Regions from separate parts of the Homo sapiens genome. Here region 2 is linked to region 1. The links are contacts of gene promoters, found by promoter capture Hi-C in blood cells and fetal thymus (Javierre and others, 2016). All regions are on one chromosome and are shown on one strand. The core of a region is centred on a gene start or on the middle of the fragment in contact, and the rest is flanking DNA. Distances in the headings are between cores, read along the strand shown. Region 1 holds the start of ARGLU1 (arginine and glutamate rich 1). Region 2 has its middle 900 kb from the start of DAOA.

Region 1 (7,810 bases), core at 2,647-5,146:
CTGGCTCCATGTAAGTTAGTTACATTAAATAACATTACTTATTGAGAGCTATTACATGCCAAGTATCACCTACTTTAAATACATCATCTCCAATTTTCACAACAAGCAAGACAGATTATCTCCATTTCACAGATTTAAAAACAAGGTTAGAGGGAGGTGATTTATTCAGCAACTCAGAATTATAAGTGGTAAACCAATAAGGTTTCCAATCTTACCAAAGAATTCCTAATTAGTTAAACCCAATGGTTGATTCTTATTTTACGGTCTCTTTCCATCTAACTAGATTTCTTGTAAGGGCACTTGACACTATGCATTTTTACCATATTTCTTTCTGCTTCCACCATAGGCTCTTCTCCCTCTTCCTAACTGCAAATACAGGCATGTCCTAAGGTTCTTTCAGTCCCTTGAATGAACCGCTCTCCTCTCTCCACACTCTCCCTGGGTCATTCCATATACTCTCAAGGTTTCACGACATTCAGCGAAGCCCCTCTCAGCTAGGCTTCAGTCTCACATGATCAAGTCTGGATAAACTCAGTACAGTATATCCAAAACTAGTGCTCACAGTGAAGGCACCATTCTCTTATCCCCTTTCCCTCTCCCTTATCCACTATTTAAAAAGTTTCTGACATTTTTACCAGTACCTGCCACATGGTTGTTACTGAAACATTTGGTAGATGAGTTGCAACAGCCACACTATAAACATGAGAACCAACATTCTTTTTCTGAAGTCCCACATTCCATTTAATATACCCTGAATGTTTCTTAAATCTGTCCCTCTTTTCCATTCCAACAACCATCCTCACTACTCCTGTGTAAACTTCTGTACCCACCTCTTAGTTTCCATCCTACACAACAATCAAAACAAAAAAGGCACCATGTCATTCACCTGCTTAAAATCCTTCCCGTTTCTAGGATGCAATCCAAGCTCTTTAATATGACATACAATAACCCTAACATGATTCCCAGCCTCTATTTACCTCTCCAGTCACTCCATGACTTAAATATTTATAGAACTTCGTGTTCTAAGTCAACAGTCACCTGATCATTCCACTTTTAAGACCATTTCCTCTATTTTGGCAGGAGTCGGGGGAGGAGGCTCTTTTCTGTGCTCCACATATGTCCTATACCTTGCCTGACATTGTCATATTCTTATATCCTCCACCCACACAGGATACTTCCTTTATACAGTTTATATTACTGTCACTAAATTTACTACACTGTATTATTGCCTATTTAATGATCTGTCTTTGAGCTAGATCAAGCTCTTGGAGAAGGGCCAATCATCTTTATATTAACAGTACCTAGCACAGTGCCTGGCACTTATTAAATGCTCAATAAACATCAGTTAAATGAATAAAATAACCAACAGGATATGTAGACTGCAAACTGTTTCCTTACACTGCCAAAGCTCCAACACTTAAGTCTTTCCATTGTTTCTTTTGCATTGTTTCCAAGACATTAGAATATATTAAATAAAATGCCTATTGTACGGCACCCAGGAATTTAGAGTACAGGTGGCTGCTAGTCCTGGTCCCTTCTCCCTCCTAAATACTATTGGCAGTTTGTGTCTTCTCTCAAACCAGAGAACCATATAGCTCCTCTATTTGCCGTATTTCATTCCTGAATTTCTTGTCTGCTATACATGCGAAACCTGCTAAATGCTTCTATTTATTCTTTGCATACCAAGTTTCTTTTCATTTTTCCTACATATCTTAGCTTTCTAGTGAAAGGCAAGTTATTACTCTTTGGAGGTCTCCTTTGTTTTCACATGTAGAAATTATCTCAGCAATGTCTTAGGTAACTTTTCATACATCCATCTGTTGATAGCTATTTGAGATCTTTACAGCTAAGGGCCTTGTTGCAGACCCAAAAGTTGTATTCTACAAAATCAAGGTTTAATTTGAAACGATTACTTGAACTTTGTTTTCATATGTATCACTGACAGTTCTAAGTACAGGAAAAATGAGTGTTGCATGTGTTTTAAAGGAGTGTTGGAAGCAAAACAGCTCCAGGTACAGCTTCCTCTGTAATATTAGTGCTCCAGTCCTACCTTTTAGTAACTTTGGTTTTAGAAACAAGCTGTGTGTGTGTGCTGGAAAATCTACCTAACACAAACCCAACTACAGAAAACTACAAACCACGCAGTCAATTCAGCACACATATACTCGCCTCGAGAAAATCATAAATTCAGTAACGTTCTTGCTTCATGAGCACTTTCTAAATATTCACTGAAGAACTGACCAAGTACGGCTGGTTCAATAGGGAGTTAGTAGGACTGTTCAAATCTACTTTTCAATGCGGTTTTTGGAAACTGAATACCCAGAGCATCAAAGTACGATGATCATAAAGCAAAACACACAACAAATCCCTAAATTTTAAAACCCAAAAATTCCTTTAGTTTGGGATTATTTATCCACATCTACTTTCATAGCCAGAAATACTTGAGAGCTGACATTTTCGGAAACACACTCTAACTCTAGTTTTCACTAAATATCCTTCATGGGAGCAACGCCAAAATAAAATCAACCCTTCAAGTGTCTTCTGAAGAAGCACAGTGTAAGGGAAACAACAAAACTGCACGTGTTTGCTACAGGAATAGAAAGCAAGTTAAAAAAGCGGTAGGCTTTGGGATGGTGATTACACAGGTGAATTCAAAGGTCAAAAAACTCATCGCACTGTACACTTAAGGTCTATGCTTTTTTTTTTTAACATCTCAAGGAAGGGGTGAGGGTGTAGGCTCAAGGGGAAAAAAGCAATCCCAACACCTTAACAACAGGAATACACTAAAGTGAAAATGCATTTTTCTGGCGGACCACCTAAAGTGTATGATTCCCGAGATTAGTTAAGTCCTGTCCCAAATTTGAGCTTCAATAGAATGCTTCTGGCCAGCTGTGATTCGCATCTCAAAGGTTAATTCCCTTCTCTCTCCTCCTCAAGCCGACCAGCAAACGCTCACCACCCTCCACATCTGCAGGCCGGCTCGCTCCCGGCCTCACAAGCCAACGCAGCTCTCCGACCTCACTCCGAACTCCACCCCTACTTCCGGGACACCACTCCTCTCTCGCGCCAAAATCGCCTTCTCTTAAACCCTTTCTGCTCAAGCCCTCGAATTTTCCATCCCGAACAACTTCTGGGTCTGTCCCACCCCAAGCTTTCCAAACGCCAAGCCTGCCCGCCCCGCCGCCGCCTCTCCGACCCGTTCCCGCGCCCGGTCCCCAGCCCCGGACCGTCCCCGCCATTCTCCCGGCCCGCACCGTCCCGCCCCGGCCCCACGCCCTCGCCCCGCGCCCTGCTCTCCGCACGCCCCGGTCCCTCCCCGCGCGGGCACTCACATTTTTCGCTGCCGCTCGAACTCCGCTTTCTTCTCCTCCTCCTCTCGCTTCTGCTTCTCGTCCAGGCTGCTGCGCTTGCTCACCGTGCGCCCGAAGATGTCGATGCGGTCGGGCGGGGACGAGGCGCGCTCCCGGTCCCGCTCGCGCCGGGACACGGCCGTGTTGGTGGAGCGCGAACGGGACCGCGACTCCCGCCGCCGGTTCCGTTTACTTTCCCGAGATTTGGAACGCTTCCGCACGCGCTCCTTGTCCCGGGATCGCGACCGGGACCGGCTGCGCTTCTTGTTGTGCTTGCTGCTCTTGGTGTGCTTGGAGCGGGACGAGCTCCGGCTCCGAGACCGGCCCATCCTTCCGGGAGACGCTCTAACCGCTCGCCTCAGGCCCCTCACGCGGCCAGTTCCCCTCGCCTCCGCCTTCGGACGCGGGCTGGCGGTTCTACCGAGGCCGGAGGAAAGAAAGGTGTCGGCCAACGGACTTTATGCCTTTTCCCGGCGTCTACAGCTGCCACGAAGGCCGCCTCCAACGAGAAACCCGTAGCGCCAGGCGCCCCTAAGATGGCAGCTGCGGCTGCACCGGCCGCCCTTCCCACAATGCCCTGCGCGAAACGTGCCGAAGCGTGGGCCCCGCCTCCTGACGATTTTTGCCGAAGGCAGGCGAGCGCTTCGGAGCGGACTCGTTTTTTTCCGCCAGTCTTGGCGGAAGCCTGAGACGCAATAGATGGAGACTCTCCTTTTCGCCTTGGCGTACTCTTTTTTTTTTTTTCCTCCCTGGTAAGATGCCAACGCCTGTTGAATGAATTAAGCACGTTTTAGTGGGATTTAAGTCCGGCCTCGCAGAAGTTGATTGATTGCATTATTTTCTAGGAGCTGGTCTTGTGGGGCAGCCCTAAAATGTATCTCCAAGTGACCCTGCACTCATCACTTGCTGCCTTGGACTTAGTTTCCTCATTCGTAGAATGGAGACACCACACTTTCTGAAGTGCTTATGAGACTTGCAGGAGGTAAGTAGGCAGCAGGTTTTGATGAATGTAACCTAATGCTTACTATAGGGCTTAATGTGCCTTCTAAATGCTTTAATGTATTAACAAGTGCTTAATTCTTACAATTCTGAATTAAGTACTACTATTATCCACGTTTCAGAGATGAGGACCCTGAGGTCCACAGAGGTTAAATAAGGGTCACACAACCAGTAGGTGACAGAGCAGGGACGTGAACCTAGATCATATTGTGCAAAGCCCTTGCACATAACCAGCAAGCCCTCCTCAACCCTAGCCACGAAAAGCTTCGTCCCTATGTGGCACAACAAACTGTGTCATTGTTAAGACCTAAAAGGAAAAGGCAATGTTAATATTTGCAGATGACAGGAACCCTTGAAAATCTAGGTGCCTCAATTTTAAAATTGAGTGCAATAATAAAGCTTAAGTAAGTAGAAGAAAAATTAGAATTATTTGAATAAGCAAAAACATATTAAAAATGAAATAATATTTCCTCCACAATGGCAACAGAAACCATAAAATACTTAGGGATAAACTTTAACAAGTTACACAATCTTTATTATAAACCTTTACTGAAAAGGCAGTAATAAGGCCCTAGTAAATGTAAAACATGCTGTATTCTTAGGTGAGTAGTCAGTATCAAAAATACTGTCAATTCTTCCCAAGTCAAATTACAAAATTAGTGCAATTCTCATGAGAGTCCCAAATTCTCTTGGGGATATGTGTTTTAGAACTAATTAATTTTAAGTTTTATATGGAAGATCACATAATTAATTATCAAGAAAACTTGGAAACAAAGAAGAGTAGTGTATTAGTCTGTGTTGACTGCTGTAACAAAATATCATAAACTAGGCAGCTTATGAACAACAAATTTATTTCTCACAGTTCTGAAAGTTGGAAATCCAGGATCCAGGTGCTAGCCAATCTGGTCGCTGGTGAGGACCCAGAGATTCACAGATGACTCACAGAAGGCACCTACTCACAGTGCCCTCACATGATAGAAGGGGAAAGCTAGCTCTCTGAGCTCTCTTTTAGTGGCACTTCTAGGGTCTGAAAGTTTGTGTTCCCTCAGATTCATATGTTGAAACCTAATCACCAGTGCAATAGTATTAAAAGGTGGGGCTTTGGGATATTGATTAGGTCATGAGGGCTCTAACCTCATAACTGGAATTAGTGCCTATCTCAGCCCATTTCCACTGCTATAACAGAATACTTTAGACTGAGTGATTTATAAATAATAGACATTATTTCTCAGAGTTCTGAAGGCTAAGAAGTCCAAGATAAAGGTACCAGCAGAGTCAGTGTCTGATAAGAGCTTGCTATCTGCTTCCAAGATAGTGCCTTGTTTTGCTGGGTCCACAGAAGGGGACGAACACTGTGTCCTCACATGAGGGAAGGGATGGGAGGCAAAAGGGCAAAAAAAAAGGGGGGGGAACTAGGACACTCCTGTCAACCTCTTTTGTAAGGATACTATTCCCATTCAAGAGGGTGGAGCCTCATTTCTTAATCACTTCCAAAACGGCTTCAGCTCTTAATGTTATTATAGTGGATTTTAGGCTCCAACATAGGAATTCTAGAGAGACACATACATTTAAGCCATAGCAATGCCCTTATAAAAGGGGCCCAAGGAAGCTTGTTCACCCGTTCTTTACCATGTGAAGACATAGAAAAAGGTGTCATCTATGAAGCAGAGAGTGAGGCCTCACCAGACACTGAATCTGCCAGTGCCTTAATCTTGGACTCCCAGCTTCCAGAACTCTGAGCGATAAATTTCTGCTGTTTATAAATGACCCAGTCTGAGGTAGTCTTATAGTAGGCTGAATGGACTAAGATAGGAACTAATCCAATTCATGAGGGCAGAGCCAGCAGCCTCACCTCCTAATACCATCGTCTCCCAGCTGCCCCGCCTCCTAATACCATCGTCTCCCGGCAGCCCCGCCTCCTAATACCATCGTCTCCCGGCAGCCCCGCCTCCTAATACCATCCTGTCCCAGCAGCTCCACTTCCTCATACCATCATGTCCCAGCAGCCCCACCTCCTCATACCGTCATCTCCCAGCAGCCCCACCTCCTCATACCGTCATCTCCCAGCAGCCCCACCTCCTCATACCATAATGTTCCAGCAGCCCCACCTCCTAATACCTTTGTCTCCTATCAGCCCCACCTCCTAATACCATCGTGTTCCAGCGGCTCCACCTCCTAATACCGTCATCTTCCAGCAGCCCCACCTCCTAATACCATTACATTGGTGATTAGATTTCAACATCTGGGTTTGGGAGGGCACACAAACATTTAGACCGTAGCAAACAGTACCTGTTTGCCCTACACAAAATTGAATAAACTGAACAACAAGATTTTAGGACAGAAATAGGAAAACAGTGCAATAGAAGGATAGATCTATTCTTTTACTTCAGATACGTTCAAGTAAAATCACATTTAATATAGAATGTATAGAATTACCCCCATTATAGTAGAAATATTTCTGTCAATCTAACCATCTGTCTGTACGTATCTGTACCTATCTATCCAGTGGGAATGATATATATGGTTTATATATCCATATATGGTGTGAATATATGATATGATGTATAGATATATCTGGAATTTTGTTTATATATATGTATATTACATATATATATAATCCAGAATGATGTCTGTTTAATGATAAAGATAGTTATTTCCAATGAGTTAGTGTATAAATTTTCTAGAGCTGCCCCGACAAATTACCACAGACTGATGTCTTAAATGAACAGAAATGTATTCACTTACAGTTCTGGAGTCCAGCAGTCCAAAATCAAATGTCAGCAAAGTTGGTTCCTTTGGAGGCTCTGGAGAAGAATCTGTTCACTGCCTCTCACTTAGCTCCTGGTGCTTGCTGGCATTCCTTGGCTTTTAGTCCCTGTCTCCATCTTTACTGTACGTCTGTCCTCTTCTTATAAGACCACTGGAGATTGGATGTAGAGGTATAGGGGATTATGGAGCTTTTAAAAGAGGATGATATTGGGGCGGGCGTGGTGGCTCATGCCTGTAATCCCAGCACTTTGGGAGGCTGAGGCGGGTGGATCACAAAGTCAAGAGTTCAAGACCAGCCTGGTCAAGATGGTGAAACCCCGTCTCTACTAAAAATACAAAAGTTAGCCAGGCGTGGTGGCGGGTGCCTGTAATCCCAGCTACTCAGGAGGCTGAGGCAGAGAATTGCTTGAACCCAGGAGGCAGAGGTTGCAGTGAGCTAAGATCGGGCTACTGCACTCTAGCCTAAGTGACAGAGCAAGACTCTGTCTAAAAAAAAAAAGATGATATTTACCCTGCTCAGGCTCTGGCCATGTCTTTTGGCTGCTGCCAGGAAAAAAAAAAAAAAAAAAAAAAAGGAAAAAGTGCATGAAAGCCCTTAATTTACCAGGGATCATCTCTGAGGATGCATTGAAGGAATGAGGAACACACACATTTTATGCCTGCATTTTATAGTATAATTATCAAAATCTTGA
Region 2 (7,810 bases), core at 1,998-4,497, 2.0 Mb before region 1:
AATATGTTTTCTTAGAATGTAGTTTTTGTTGCTCAAGTGCTGCTTCTGTTTCACATTTTTGTAAAAGAGCTGTGATGGGAATTATATTTGAATTAACCCATTTTTACATCCAAATATTTTAGATAGAGAATAGCATGTTAAATAAATGTTGATATAAAATCTTCTTGGTGTGATACAGAAATAATGTGAAAAATACCATTGTATATAAAACCAAGTTTCTTTATCCTTGCAGTTTCTAATATAGACTCCTATGTATTATGAGATTCTTCTGGGCTTTTCTCTTTTTAAGGGCATCAAACTGGAAGGAAAAGATAAAGTAATGTAAAATTTAAGAACTTCATCCATAGCAGTGTGATTCTGTATTTAAAGGCATTTTACCAATTTAAAGTAAGTATTTAAGGGAATGTACAATTTGTACATAGATATTTTATAATTAAAAATTTGCATTTTTTCAGTATTAATAGTAATGCTTTTACTTGCATACATTTTTAATTTCAAAAAGTATTCCTAAGTGTGACTTAATTTTATCTCATAATAACTATGCAAGATGCCCAACACAAGTCTTATTATTTCTAATGTACATCAGTTTTCTAATGTCAACTCTTCACATTTTTTGATGTTTTAATTTCTGTTTGTGCCATCATCTTGATTCCTCAAACCATGCTTTGCTTTTTCTAACTGCCTCTCTTGGATGAGAGCTTTCAAAGGAACTCTGTTACATTTGGCTATTACACACTGCTGTAAATTGATACGTGTGGCTATGCTATTCACAGTCATGGTTCCCAGGGACAGGGACCCAGAGCCAGGTAAGTGCCCCGCTTCTGTTCCAACCTACTTACTTGGGGAGACAGAACCAGGTTCCACTGCACACAAGATGGGCGAGCTGGGCTATGTCACTCAGCCTCCCTGGGTATTCATTTCTTTTCTTTTTTTTTCTGAATATCCAACAGCAAGCAATGTGTATCCATTACTTATTTGAAAAATGTTGAAGTTAGAGAAAAAGAATCATCTTATAAATGCCACTAGTTTAAAATGCTGTGATTCCATAAAAGAGACAAAGCCCCACAATTAATGCACATCCAGATTGAGGCCGGAGCCCAGGTCTCTACATTTCCACTTATCTTCTCTGTACAACCTCTTCCTTGGCATTTGACACAGCACCAATTAAATGATGACATATAAAAAGGGAGCACAGTAGTGGGTTCCAACAGTGCTGAAAACAGTCACCTCGTCCAAAACTCTTGTGGCACCACCCAGAGCTCAGGGTAAGTGATACCAACCCCATGAAAGCTGCTGAAGGTGACAGAAATGGGACAAAGATTCGAATTTATTCTACTCTCTGACCATTCCTAATGGGAGGTCACCATACAGTAAGAGTGATGATAGTGTTCACAGCCATAGCCAAGCTGGGCTGATCCTCTGCTTATTTCTGCTTTGGTCATGTCTATTAGCGTCTCCTGTCTCAGCAGTTACCAACCATCTGTTGTTACTGAGCTCTGGCCTCAGAAAACAATCTCTTAAATACCTATACACTGTTAAAAAGTCTCACCACACATGGACTCACACACATGCTCACACACAGGCTCACACTCACACACACATGATCACACACAGGCTAACACTCATACTCACACAGGCTTACACACAGGCTCACAGACACACGTTCACACATACTCACAGGCTCAAATTTATACACAAACATGCTCACACACACCACACACAAGCTCACACACCCACATGCGTGCTCTCACACACACACATGCTCACACACAGGCACACAGGTTCACGCACATCCTCACAGACACGCATGCACACACAGGCTCACACACACAGGCTTACACACACACATGCTCACACACAGGATCACACAGGCTTGCACATGAGGTTACACTTGCACACTCACACACATGCTCATGGCCACATGGACCCATACTTGAACACACACACATGCTCACAGACTCACACAAAGGCTCACACTTACAGTCTCACACATGCTCACACACACAGGTTCATACAAGCTTGCACATGGGCTTACACCTACACACACATGCTCAAAGACACACACGCTCAAAGACACACACACAGGCTCACACTCATATGCTCACACACACACAGGCTCACAGTCACACACATATACAGAGTCACGGAGCACAGTGCTTTAGGGCAGTGGTCCCCAACGTTTTTGGCACCAGGGACCAGTTTCATGGAAGACAGTTTTTCCATCAGTGAGGAGGAATGGGAAGGGATGATTTCAAGATGAAACTGTTCCACCTCAGATCACTGGGCATTACATTCTCATAAGGAGCCCACAACCTATATTCCTCCCCTGCACAGTTCACAATAGGATTCCTGCTCCTATGAGAAGCTAATGCCCGCTGATCTGGCAGGAGGCCGAGCTCAGGCAGTCATGCTCACTTGCCCACTGCTCACCTCCTGCTGTGCGCCCCAGTTTCTAACAGGCCACAGACTGGTACTCGTCCACAGCCCAGGGGTTGGGAACCACTGCTTTAGGTGACATATATGACAATGTCTCTTCTTTGTAAACTAAAAGGAGGCCTCCTATGTGTTTTGATGCCCTGATCAAACTTAGTATTAAAAATTGCAAAAGCTTCTGGGAGAGCTGGATCACGCCTGTAATCCTAGCACTTTGGGAGGCCAAGGCGGGCGGATCACCTGAGGTCAGGAGTTTGAGACTAGCCTGACCAACATGGTGAAACCCCATCTCTACTAAAAATACAAAAATTAGCCAGGCATGGTGGTGGGTACCTGTAATCCCACCTACTCGGGAGGCTGAGGCAGGAGAATCACTTGCACCTGGGGGCGGAGGTTGTAGTGAGCCGAGATCGCGCCATTGCACTCCAGCCTGGGTGACAGAGCGAGACTCCGTCTAAAAACAAACAAACAAACAAACAAACAAACAAAAAACAAACAAAAAAAGCTCTAAGAGAAATAAGATTCTATTTTATACATAAATGCCTCTCTGTTCTGAACGACTGACAAATATTTTGTTTGCTTGACTTTTAATGGCTCAGGTAGGACTTAAATATTTGATGAACTCCATCAGTTTATAGCATATTTGTCAAATACAAACTCTGCACCTTGTTTAGGATTAAGGAAGAAATGTTTTGTTTGTTTATATCGGCAAGTTTTTGAATAGACTGCACACTGTCACTCTCCTCGTATTTAAATTGCTTATCTCAGGTTGCCAAATTCAGCATCTGAACTCCTGATTTGAGATCTCTCGTTCTCTTATTCTTTTGTGTTTTAAAAATAATGCTGTCACCTAATTCCTAGCCATATCTTTTCAGGGGATGTTGGAGTAAGCAAAAATGAATAATTTTTCCTATCTTTTAGATTTTTTTTCCTAAATGTGTGAAAAACCTTTTCTCTATCAAATAGTTTGTTTAAAAAGAAGAAAGAAACCAGTTGGCAGAAAATATATTGACAATTGCTTGCTAAAATATTTCAGGGTAAAAAAAATCATGAGATCTATCTAATTTTTATAAGTCACTGATTAGCTTTATGTGAGTTATACACCTTTTGGGGTGTGCAATCTAACTAAAAATTCTCCTGAGGCAGAGGAGGCGTTTCCAATTCCCTCTTTTTCATTATATCATAATACCTTTGCCTCCAGGTGTTAAAATTGTAATCATAGCCTACACAAAAATTGTCATTTAGAAATGTATTATGAACTGAAGAAAACATTCAACATATAAATTGATGAATATCGACGCTCCACCTAGATGTAGAAAATGACATGATTGGCATGAAGGGTACTTTGATTGAGAAAAATTAGGACTCTGTTAGGACGGAAGAAAACTTAGATGATTGTTGTTGGATAGGCCCTGAATAGCATTCACTAGTAAACCTGGTTGTCTTCCTTGATGAAAGCTTTTATGGTTTTGATGGGCAGAGCTATGATTCTTTTTCTTACTGTCACTTCACAGGGCTCCACATAGTGCCAGGCTGTGGAGGAAAAGGCCCTGAGTGAGCAAAGCTGATGGGCAGAGTGATCTTCCAGGCAGCAGTCTAGTCCCTGAAGTGAGAGGGGAATTAATGTAAAATTTGTCAAAAGTGGAATTTAAGGAAGTCAAAACAGCATAGCTGCATTAGTGAATGATTGGATTTGGGCAGATGGGGAGAAATGAAATGAGCCCACTCCTTGTCTTTTGATTGAGAGGGAGTGGTATCATCGTTGAGGAAGGAGATAGAGGCGAGGAAGCCAGTTGTGGAGAAGGGTGTGGAGAGAATGAATTCAGCTGCAGTGAGCTGAGCTGAGACATCATTGCAGCAGGTTGTTTTGATGGAGGTGATAAGACCAGACCCAGGCTGGGTAGGGTAGGGAGGGCATTCCTCAGGCACAAAGCTGACATCATCCACGATAGCTACAGAAACTAGGCTTGAGGGCATGTGTACGAAGGAGGAGAAAGGTACACTGAGGCCAGATTGACAAGACAAGAGAAGAGACAGTAACAATTAAAGATTTTTAAAAAGTATACTATATCTACCGTGGGCAATAATGAAAGGTTTTTAAGCCCTACACTTTTAATAGGGAAATTCTGGTAAATTAGCCAGGCAACGGTATGCAAAATCACATGATATGTTAAGAAAATAGTTATTTTTCCCCTACTATGTTTCAGACATTGCAGTAAGCACATGAATTAATAGTGAATAAGACAACAGAGGAAAGAATCTAGAGATAGGTGTGAGAGTTGGAAGTCTAGTGGGATATTTCAGGTTTAAGGATAAAAGACTTGATTTGAAGTTGCACTAGTAAAAAAGAGAAAGAGTGTTTTCATTTGTTTTGTCTTTTTGGTTTTGGTGTTTTGTTTTAGAAAGTAAACAGAATGTGACATATTGTTGAAAATAGGAAGTTGGAATGGGAAGTTTGTAAGCGATGGACATAGACTATGAAAGACTGGCTCTTGTGAAAATTATGGAAGCATGGACAGAAGCGGAGCAGGAGGGAGGGGCCTTTTGCCATGGGGAGTAAGTAAGAGAAATCTTTTTACTTTATTTTTTGCAACAACTCTAGAGATACTTTCACAAAGCTTTGCCTACATTTTCCCAGTTATTTTATTGTATGTCCTTGAGATTTTATCCATCACGATTCATCTAGAGCATGAAACTTTGAGATCTCTTGTGAGTTTTTCTTCCTATCCTACTTTAATGAGATCATTACAGTTGGACAGAAGAGGTGGAATATAGGTGGGTAGTTGTGTGATTAGGTGTACGCATCTGAGTGTATATTCTCTATGTTACTGTGAAAAAGAGACTCTACTTTTAAGGTGAACATTGGCGAGAAACTAGTTAAATTTTATTTGCAGTTAAAAGTAAGTTTATATTGGATAATGCTATTGCATTTCCCACAAAAATTAAAAGCATCAAAATGATACATCAACATCAATTTAAAGCAGGCCACGTGTCTAACTGTACAAGCCTGTTAAACTCTCAAACCTGCACCAACGTGTTATGTAGAGTTCCCTGGGCTTTTGATTTCTCGTCTTTGAAATGAGGAGGTTGGGACACATAATTTCTTAAATACCTTTTCATTTTTATTGATGTGTCTGATTATGTATAAAAAGTACTTACAGGGAAAATAATCAGTTTGATCTCCCTTGTAAAACAGGAATATGTTTTATAGAATCTTTCCCCATCTGAGAGAAGAGCAAACCATTTCCCATCAAGTCAATGTATAGGATTGTGTGTGTGTGTTGTGTGTTGCGTGTTTTGGGGTAGGTAGGGATGCCCTTTTATAGTTAATATAATAATAAATTGATTCTGTTTTAATTTGAAATATCTACAGTGTCTAAATTACCAAATCCTTAATTATCCAGTTACCAGCAATGACTTCCAAGTCCCATGGATTTAGATACATTTGAAATAAACCACCAGCTACCTCAAATCTTGGAAAAAAGCCCATTGCCCAGCTCAAAAATTACAAAACTTCCCAAATGTTTATATATGCAAGGTCACGTCTGTCTCAAAGTTTATCTTCAGCTGTTTTCTTCTGTTGCACCTTCCCTAGCACAGAACTCAAATTTACAGCTCAAAGACAGGAGAGGGAAATCTTTTAAAATTTATTTAAAAATGGAATACCCTCTCTATTATCAATTGGTTGCATACAGTATCCTATGCAAGTTCTCAAAAGCTAATCAGCTAGTCCTCTACAGAGATACTATTTCTGGCCACTTGACTGTAAGTTCCAGTTTCCTCCAAGATTGCCTCCTCCTTTTTCCCCACTTCTCTCTTTAGCATCCCCTCAGTCCCGTTTACACCTGCTAACTCTGTCGTCTCCCTTAAGCCCTTAGGTTTAGAATCACTCTTTTCAAATTCTAAGTGGCAGGAAATTCATTTTCCTAAACAAAGATGGCTTCTTCCTAACTGTAATGTGGGTAGGACTATTAAAATCATGTATGCACAAATCTGTGTGACTGCATGGCTCTCTGTGTGTACCCCAATTGATATTCACTCTTTAGGAAATGTTCCAATCTTTAAACAGGCCCCCATAACTCTGGCTCTCATGACACCTCATGATGAGCAGTTTTGTTGAATTCGCTGTCATGCCCCATGGACCCACTACCATGTAGGTGAAAGAGAGCACTGACTCTGGCAAAGCCAGCCTGTACCAGGACATGCTTCCCCATATTTGCAGCTTGGGTTCTGTGTTTCACCTGGCAGGAGGAAGACCTTGTGGACAGCTGTGCTGCAGCTAACCCACTGGCAGCAGCCTTTTGGGGGAAAAGTGCTGGAACCTTTGCAGGGTTGCCTTGTGCCTTCTTCTTGATGTTTCTGGGAATATGCAAAACTTCAAAGAATAAGCAACAATCACTTGTGTCCCTGTGATTCCTGATAGGTCATGCATGCAATCTTGTGGCAGCTTTTCAAGAGCAGCCTTGTCAGTTGTGTGTGGGTGCATGAAGCAGGCATGTGCAGACCATTTATCACATGATGTTTGCACTAATTAATGAACAAATGAGTAAAGTTTAAAAGAGGGATGGGGCCGGGCGCGGTGGCTCACGCCTGTAATCCCAGCACTTTGGGAGGCTGAGGCGGGCGGATCACGAGTTCAGGAGATCGAGACCATCCTGGCTAACACGTTGAAACCCTGTCTCTACTAAAAATACAAAACAAATTAGCCGGGCGTGGTGGCGGGCGCCTGTAGTCCCAGCTACTCGGGAGGCTGAGGCAGGAGAATGGTGTGAACCTGGGAGGTGGAGCTTGCAGTGAGCCGAGATCGCGCCACTGCACTCCAGGCTGGGTGACACAGCAAGACTCTGTCTCACAAAAAAAAAAAAAAAATGAGGGGTGGGCAGCAAGCTCAACTGGTGCTTTAAAAACACGACACAGTACTTGAGAGTATGTTTTGAAAACTAAACTAAACTTTGTATTTTCTAATTAACTATTCTCAACAGATCTCTCCTGACCATGCCGTTCATTGCCCTTGCTGTCTTCCTGATTTTCCTTTTTGGGTCTGAGTAATTTAAAGAGACTGACTTTGTGATTATAAAAAAGAGGTACAACATGAGATCTCCAATTACTGCAGACCACTGTGAGCTGGCGCAGTTAATCTTAACACCATACCTTAAATTAATTTAATTAAGTCATTACTTATGCTGTGTAGTCATAACTCATAGACTCTAGAAATAACAGCAAAATTAGGTTGTATACTTAATAAATTTCACTGTAGGTGGCATCACAGGCTGACAAGATCTGACTTAAAGAGAAGGATTCAAGATATCCAGTTGTTTTATAAATCCCAGGAGGTTTACATAACCCAGATCATAAGAAAATCTAAGCGAAGTTCTAT

Evidence for each region. Contacts are between HindIII fragments. The CHiCAGO score rates a contact against its expected background, and 5 or more counts as called.
Region 2: a contact is called between a fragment that was not itself captured here and the fragment with the promoter of ARGLU1 in region 1, in 1 of 17 cell types (fetal thymus). The highest score is 5.4, in fetal thymus.

The regions. Positions count from the first base shown.
Region 1 is chr13:106,564,241-106,572,050 of GRCh38, forward strand. It overlaps ARGLU1 (arginine and glutamate rich 1), which reads right to left and starts at 3,897. Exons shown (of 4, transcript NM_018011.4): 1 at 3,333-3,897. The coding sequence starts at 3,679. RefSeq lists a silencer at 3,059-3,358 and enhancers at 3,253-4,163, 3,839-3,958, 3,969-4,038. The HindIII fragment of the contact is 1,462 bases long and covers 3,150-4,611 here.
Region 2 is chr13:104,562,997-104,570,806 of GRCh38, forward strand. No RefSeq gene overlaps it. Among named protein-coding and RNA genes, the nearest start is that of DAOA, 900 kb to the right of the region's middle. The HindIII fragment of the contact is 1,283 bases long and covers 2,607-3,889 here.